2 separate regions of the Homo sapiens genome follow, and region 2 is linked to region 1. Evidence: promoter capture Hi-C in human tissues and cell types (Jung and others, 2019). All regions are on one chromosome and are shown on one strand. The core of a region is centred on a gene start or on the middle of the fragment in contact, and the rest is flanking DNA. Distances in the headings are between cores, read along the strand shown.

Region 1 (3,748 bases), core at 479-2,978:
ACCTCGGGAGGCAACCGCTGGATCTCGTTGTCGCTCAGGCCCAGCTTGCGCAAGTTCAGCAGCCGGAAAAAAGGCTGTGGGCAGGGAGGACACGGACTCTGTGGCAGAGACCACTGCAGAGCAGAGAAGAGCTCCTGGACACGTGAGTGTCACAAGTCAAGAGTCCCTAGGCCTCTGTCTGCTCCAGGTCACACCGGGTCCTGGGGTCTAACCACGACACCCCATTTGCAAAAAAAGGAAAGAAACACACGGTACACACGCCCACTGTGGCTGCCTCCCTCTACTCTTCACACCAGCCTCCACTCTGAGAAGACACCTGCTGGCGACCAGACAAAGCCCCAATCCCCTACCCTGTGTCTTACCTCAGGGCCCACCCAGCCCCTGAACCACTTCTGCCACCCTCCAGGGGCCCACACTGGCCTCTGCTACTGCATCCTGACAACAAGCCTGGCCTGGTTCTGCAGCAAGAACTCAGTAAACGCTCCCCACAATAACACAGTACCACAGGCACAGTGCTACGCGCGAGGCCTGCAGGTGGCCACAGAGGACCGAGCTGTCACTGCCACGGCCAGAACAGGGTCACATTCTTTGGGACACCCAACCCCTAGGTACTGATCACCCAGCACCCCATCTCCAGAAAAGAAATACTTTTTAATCTGCTTTCTCCAGCCTCCTTTCTTGTAGCAGCCTTAGGAGAGCACCTGACCACGAGAAGCAAGGGTAAAGAAAGGGGGACAGCGAACAGATCCGAGAGCAAAGAGTACATCAAGAGGGCTCCCCCACTCACCCCTGCACCCAGCAAAAAAGGAGAGGAGGTCTGGACCCACCTCCAGAGCGGCCCAAGAAGCTAGTACTCATCAGCCACCTGAATCCAAGTTCCACCCTAACCCCATCCACCTCCCTGAATCCCCACGGGTTTCACTCTGAGGCTCCGCCTCCAGGCTCGGTGACAATCGCTATCCCCAGGCAAGCACCTGATGACCGCTGCCACCTGCGCCAGCCAGGGCGGCTGGAAGAGAAGGGTGGGGCTGGCTGGGGTGGGGACCTGGCCAGTGCAAACCAGCAGGGCCGGCTGGAGGCTGCGGTGACTCGCCCGGGCAGATTCTGCCGCCGGAGGAATCACGGGCTGGGGGCGCGCCTTTGGGCGGCAGGTGCGGGCGGCCGCTCACCTTGGGCAGCTCGCGCAGCTGGTTGGCGTCGAGCAGCAGCTCCTCCAGGCTGCGGCTGTAGCGGTAGATCTCCTCCGGCACGGCCTGCAGCGAACAGTGCCGCTTGTCCACCGACTCCACGTGCCGGTTGCAGCGCCACAGCGGGATGCACTTGAGCATGGTGCGGGTGGGCGGCGCGGGCTCCGGCGGCGGCGCTCGGCGGGCTCGGGGCCGGGGGGCGGGGCTCAGTCCGCATGGGCGCCGCGCATGGGGAGGGGGCGCAGGCAGGGGGCGGGCCGCCCGAGACTGGACGGGGACGCGGCCGCGGCCGGCGCTGGGCCCGGCCCGCGCTCGGAACGCTCGGACTGCGGGCCTGGGCAGGGGGCGCGGCCCGGCGGGTCTCAGACTCTTAGGAAGCGCGGGGAGCGGCGGCGGCGGCGGCTCCGCATCCCGCTTGGTCCTGCTCAGCTCGTCCCGCCCGCTCGTCCGCCCGCTGTGCCGCACCGGAACCGCCGCTGCCCGCCGGACTGCCCCGCCGACACCCACCCGGCCGCCGCGCAGCCCGTCGGGAAGCCGAGTCCGGCCCTCGCCGCCTAGCACGCCCGGACTGCGGCCCCCAGAAGGCCCCGCGCGCCGCCGCCTCTGAGGACCCGTAGCGGCACCGCGCAAAGCGTGCCGGGAAGCCGGGCCCGCCCCGCGCGCGGGATATTGGGAGCTACAATCCACGAGAGGCGGCGCCCTCCGCCCTCCGGTCTTCAGCCCGGCCCCTGGCCCCGCGGCATTTGGCCACGAATCTTAACGCACAGCCTCCTCCCGGGAAGCGACCATGCCCGCCCGCCCGCCTTGGACGGCCGGCTCTGCGGCACAAAAGCACTGGCAGCGCGCGCTGTCCAGCGGGTCGCGGTGTCCCGGTGCCCAGCCTTCTCTCAGCACCACCCTGCGGGGACGGCTGCGAGCCCGCGCGCGAGAGCCTGGCGCCCCAGGCAGCCCCGCCCACCCAGCCGCCGCCACCCGCGGGACGGGGCCCGGGGCGCCAACCCCCTGCCCAGGTCTCGCCCACGGCAGGCCCCTCCTGCCAACAGGAAGCAGGTCCAGAGACCCCCCCAACCCTGCCTCCTCGCCCTAGACCCCCTAAGGACACACGCCCAGGATCGGTGACAGGACCGACGGCAGACACACGGACGTTCAGGGCCAGCAGCATCCGCACCTTTATCCGCACTGTAGGCTGGGCTGGGCAGAGCGCGCCTGGCCCCGGGGACACCACTGTATCACTATAAAACCCAGAGGAAACAAGGAACAAGTGCAAGTCCGGGGAGAGGGACCACTGTCACGCAGAGAGGTCACTGTTATCAAAACGCTCCTGGTCGTACACTTCAGCCACCACCTTGCGGCCAGCAAACCAGCGGCCATTGAGGGCCTGGATGGCCTTATGAGTCTCAGAGGCTATGGAAAACTCCACAAAGATCTTGACAATGATTTCTGCATCCTCCTCCTCGCCTTGTTTCTCTTGGTAGATGATGACGCGGTTCACGGCCCCGAACTTGCCACACTCCTCTGTCACCTCCCCTTCCAGGTCATCATCGATGTCCTTGGGGTCCACCATGTTGCGCAGAACCATCACTGTAGACTGTGGGGCAGGGCCGAGGGGAAGACAGCTGAGCACTGCGGCCCCGCCCCCCTACCCTCTCCCCCGCCACCACCCTGCCCCTCTGCCTACCTCCTGCTTGCGGAGCAGCTTCTGCATCACCATGTGTCGGGCGCTACTGCCCGAGATGCTCATGTGCTCCTGCTCGCTCAGCATCTCTGGCCGCTCTGACTCGGGAAACAGCTCCTCTTCTTCCTTCTCCTTCTTGGGCTCCAGGAGACCCAGCGTTGGAGGGCTGGCCAGGATGGGGTTCACCACTCCCACCGAGGGGATGGTGACCGGGATAGGAGGACGGGCTGGGGTCACACCTGCAGGAAAACCAACCAGGTCCATCAGTCACTCCCTACCACCCCCCTTCCCAGAAAGGCACAGAGCTGGCCTGCCCTGGGCTCAGAGGGTTGTGCCCAGACCACCAGGGCCAGGCAGCTGAGGGCAGCGAGCCGAGAGATGCCAGGACAGGAGAGGAGAGGATCTGGTACCACTTAAGACTCACCTGTGATGACTCCAGGTGCCTGGGCAGCCATGACAGCCTGGGGCAAAGTGCCCAGGGGCTGGGCCAGGGTCAGTGCTGGGGACACCAGTCCAGGTGTGCCCAGGGTACCCAGCACCGCTGCTCCGGCCACTGCTTCCTGCAACCCAAAAGGTCACCGTGCTCAGTCCCTGGTCTGGCTACTCAAGACCACCTTGAATCAGTCTCCAAGGAATCAGGGGCCAGCCCGCCCACCCTCAAGCCGACAGCTGTGTGGGCCCTCACCTGAGCTGTGATCTTGGCAGTGGCTGCAGCAGCTGCCACAGCAGCGGCAGGTGGGAGGCCTCCAGGCGTGGCTGGTGTGAGTAGGGGCATGGGCGGTGTGACAGCCTTGCCCACCCGCAAGTACTGGCCACCCAGGTCAAAGAGGTTCATGGAAGACACAGCATCTTGGGACGACTGGGCCTTCTCGTACTCTGTGGGCAG
Region 2 (3,748 bases), core at 910-3,409, 160 kb before region 1:
CTCAGGAGAGTCACAGGGCTTGACACCTGACTCTGAGCTGGAACAGTAGGGGCAGGGAGAAGACAGGTCTCAAGAAAAGGTTTTTAAGAAGTTTCATCCCCAGTTAAGCAGAGTCCATCCTTGACTTAAATCCCTTATTACAGCACAACTGTGTATCTAATCTTACGATTTAGGAGAATGTTACCTAGGACATTTTGATGTGTTAAGTTGAAGAAAGGTAACTCGTGTATGAACCCCGAGCCATTTCCCTGTTGTCCTGAGGAGGAACTCCAGGCCTCCCATCGTGTGCCCTAAGGCCTCCTGCGTCCTGGAGCCCTGCCTCCCACTGCCTGACTTCCTGCCACACGGTTAATGCTGCAGCAACACCGACTGCTTCATCTTCCCTGTGCTCCACGTGGCTTCCTACCTCTCTCGCCTTTGTTCTTGTTGAAGGGTCTCTTCTCAGCTAATTAACTCTGAATCATGGTTCAAGACAAGCCTCAGGCATCATGTCAATGGGTGTTTCCCTCAAGCTTAGTTGGCAGCACTCTCCACACTTCTGTGGCTCAGTGATTACTGCTATTACTATATTTACTTGCATATGTCAGAATGATGTGATAGACTATCTCTGTCACTATGCTGTTGGGTTCCTGAGGACAGTGATCATATCTGATTGATTTCCATGTGTCCACTGTCTAGCACAGGGCAATAAAAAATACACCCCTAAATCTATGTGTAATTGGCATCTCTCTTGCTTTGTCCTTTCTATACTGCCATTCTAAAAATTTTCAGCTGTTGGCTGTTTTTTTTGTTGTTTGTTCATTTTGTATCAGTATAATCTACGATTCTGTTAGAAGTATCTTCTCAGCCCTGCTACTGTCTGCTGCTCCTACTTAGAAGTTGCAGGCAATATCCTGTGCACATCCACGCCCTCCTGTGTGCCACCTTACAGCTCATGCAGAACTGTCTACTTGATCTGGAGGGCATTGACACCTGGCTCAGCTGGAACAGTGGGGACAGGAGGAGGCAGGTCTCAAGAGAAGGTCTTTACTTACTTGTCTGTATCTTTCTGTCTCACTCGAAAGGCACAGTCTCAATGCGCTACGTAACTCTTCTGTTGTAGCAGTTCTGAGGTTGAACTGAGCTCTTGTCATTTTCCATGCTCTCTGGCTCATTGTGTCATTTCAAAATGTATTGATATCTATAAGGAATAGTCCTCAATGTTGGGAAAACAGATGAGCAACCCACTACCCTGAAGTCATCCACCGTGTAGTGGGGAAGACGGAGATCACAGTAGGGTGAGTTAAGTATGTGCCCTCAGGTGTGAAGGAGCACAGGTGAGGGGGTGCCTGCTGTGGCACAGAGCTGGGAAGGCCTTACAGAAGAGGTGACATTTCAGCTGGGCCAGAGATCAGTAGAGAGCAGCTGAAGAAGAAAATAGGGTCCAGGAGAGGAATCTGCAGAAACATGGAGCCATGACAGATGGCTTTTTGGCTAGGACTGTTCGAAAGCAGGCGAGGTAAATGGACAGTGGACAGCCGCCTCGCCAAACTGTTAGTCTTTACCTCTGAATTTCATCTGGACATGAACCCCAAAGTCCAGTTTTGTAACGATATAATTTTTTTCTCATGAGGCCATATTTTGAGTTCTTAAATACTACCAACCCTGAACGTCTCAGGACAAATAATTCAAAAAAGAGATCTACATTTTCTGGAAAATCAGCATTACTAGAGATGTTTCAAATGTAGATTTTACCAGACCATTTTAATCAACTTTATTGAGATTCAATTTTCATATAGTAAAACGCCTATTTAAGTGTACAAGGTTTTGAAAAATCTATACACCTGTGTAACCACCACCACCTGTGTAACCACCACCGCCAGAACCAAAAACGTTTCTGTCACCCAAAGAAGTTCCCTTTTGCCTTTTCCTAGTTAAGCCCACTCCAGCCCCAGATAACCACTTTCTATCCTCATAGATTAGTGTTGCTTGGTTTAGAGCCTCATACAAATGGATTCATTTACTATGTGTTCTTTTGCGTCTGATGTCTCACTTTGGCATGTTTTTAGACTCATCCAAGCTGTTTTGTGTTTCAGTAGTTCTCCTTGCTGAATAGTATTCCATTGTGTGGATAAGCCATCATTTGTTTATTCATCCATGTGTTAATGGGTTTCCAGTCTCGGCTCTTAAAACTATGAGCATTTGTGTAAAAGTATGTATTTGCACATGTGTTTTTATTTCTCTTGGGTAAGTACCTAGGACTTTAATTGCTGTGTTGTAAGTGTCTTAGTTCATTCAGGCTGCCATAACAAAATACCATCAACTGGGAGGCTTATAAACAACAGAAATTTATGTTTTACAGTTCTGGAGGCTGGGAAGTCCAAGATGAGGGTGTCAACATTTGGTGTCTAGTGAGGGCCTGCTTCCTTTTAAGTAGATGTCTTTTTACTGTGACTGCACGTGGTGGAAAGGGACTAGCAAGCTTACCCCATTCATGAGGGCTCTCCCCTTGTGATTCTGTCCCCTCCCCAAGACCCCACCTCATATCATCTTATGGGTTAGGAATTTGACATGAATTGTGCAAGGATGTAAACATTCAGTCCATTGCAATACGTGTTTCTAACTTCCTAAGAAATTGTCACACAGCCCTCTGTAGTGGTTGAATCATTTTACACTATTACTACATTATGGGAAGATTCCAGTTGCTCCATATCTTTGCTAACACTTGGCATTGTCAGTCTCTTAAAATTTAATCCACTCTAGCCTCCTTATGATTTTAATTTGTATTTGCCCACTGAATAATGTATGTCTATGATTTCATCTGCTTATTGCTTTTCCGTGTCGTCTTTTGTGATGTGTCTGTTCGTGCCTTTTGCCTGTTTTTAAGTTGGGATGCTTATTGTTGACTCAAGTTCTTTCCATATTCTGCATGAAAAACATACATGTAATATATAGAATTCTTTGTCTCCATTTGTGACAAATATTGTGAATATTTTCATGTTTGGTTTGCCTGTTCATTTTCTTAATGGTGTCTTTTGAATATTTTTTATTAAGCCTAATTTATCAAAGATTTGGGTGTGGTGGCTCATGTCTGTAATCCCAGCACTTTGGGAGGCCAAGGTAGGCAGATCACCTGAGGCCAGAAGTTTGAGACCAGCCTGGCCAACGTGGTGAAACCCCGTCTCTACTAAAAATACAAAAATTATCTGGGCGGGTGGCACACCCCTGTAGTCCCTGCTACTCGGGAGGCTGAGGCAGGAGAATCACTTGAACCCAGGAGGCAGAGGTTGCAGTAAACCAAGATAATAATAATAATGATTTATGATATTTTATAATAATTTGAGTTTAAGAAATTTGCCTACTCAAAGGACATGATTTTTTCCTATGTTTTTTATTTTTATGGAACTTTTATAGTTTTACCTTTTACATTTAAGTCTGTGATCCATTTTGAGTTCATTTTTGTGTACCATATGTGATAAGGGTCAAGATTCACTTTTTTATCTGTGTGGTTGGTTGGTTCGGTTCTATTTGTTGAGACTCTACTTTCCCAATGACCAAGTCTTCACAGGTTTGTAAAAACTGAAGTGACATAGAAGTGGTCTGTTCTGGACACCATTCTTCTTGTGTGTATAACTTTACACCAATATGACACTATATTGATTACTGTAGTTTTATTTGAGGCAGAAATCTCATTCTGTTGCCCAGGCTGGAGCGTAGTGGCACAATCACAGCTAATGTAACCTCGAACATCCGGGCTCAAGTGAGCCTC

The links. The method cuts DNA at HindIII sites, captures the fragments that hold promoters and counts their contacts. A contact is called where the count stands out against the background at its distance.
Region 2: a contact is called between a fragment that was not itself captured here and the fragment with the promoter of SCRIB in region 1, in 1 of the 25 tissues and cell types used here (H1 embryonic stem cells).

Annotation. Positions count from the first base shown.
Region 1 is chr8:143,814,045-143,817,792 of GRCh38, forward strand. SCRIB (scribble planar cell polarity protein) reads right to left here and starts at 1,729. Exons shown (of 37, transcript NM_182706.5): 1 at 1,170-1,729; 2 at 1-74. The coding sequence starts at 1,328. PUF60 (poly(U) binding splicing factor 60) reads right to left here. Exons shown (of 12, transcript NM_078480.3): 9 at 3,548-3,738; 10 at 3,287-3,422; 11 at 2,866-3,101; 12 at 2,300-2,775. The coding sequence ends at 2,476. RefSeq lists enhancers at 107-771, 1,056-1,688, 1,689-2,321. The HindIII fragment of the contact is 41,605 bases long and covers 1-3,748 here.
Region 2 is chr8:143,651,670-143,655,417 of GRCh38, forward strand. ZNF623 (zinc finger protein 623) reads left to right here. Exons shown (of 2, transcript NM_001261843.2): 2 at 1-2,061. Among named protein-coding and RNA genes, the nearest start is that of ZNF623, 18 kb to the left of the region's middle. The HindIII fragment of the contact is 4,456 bases long and covers 1-3,748 here.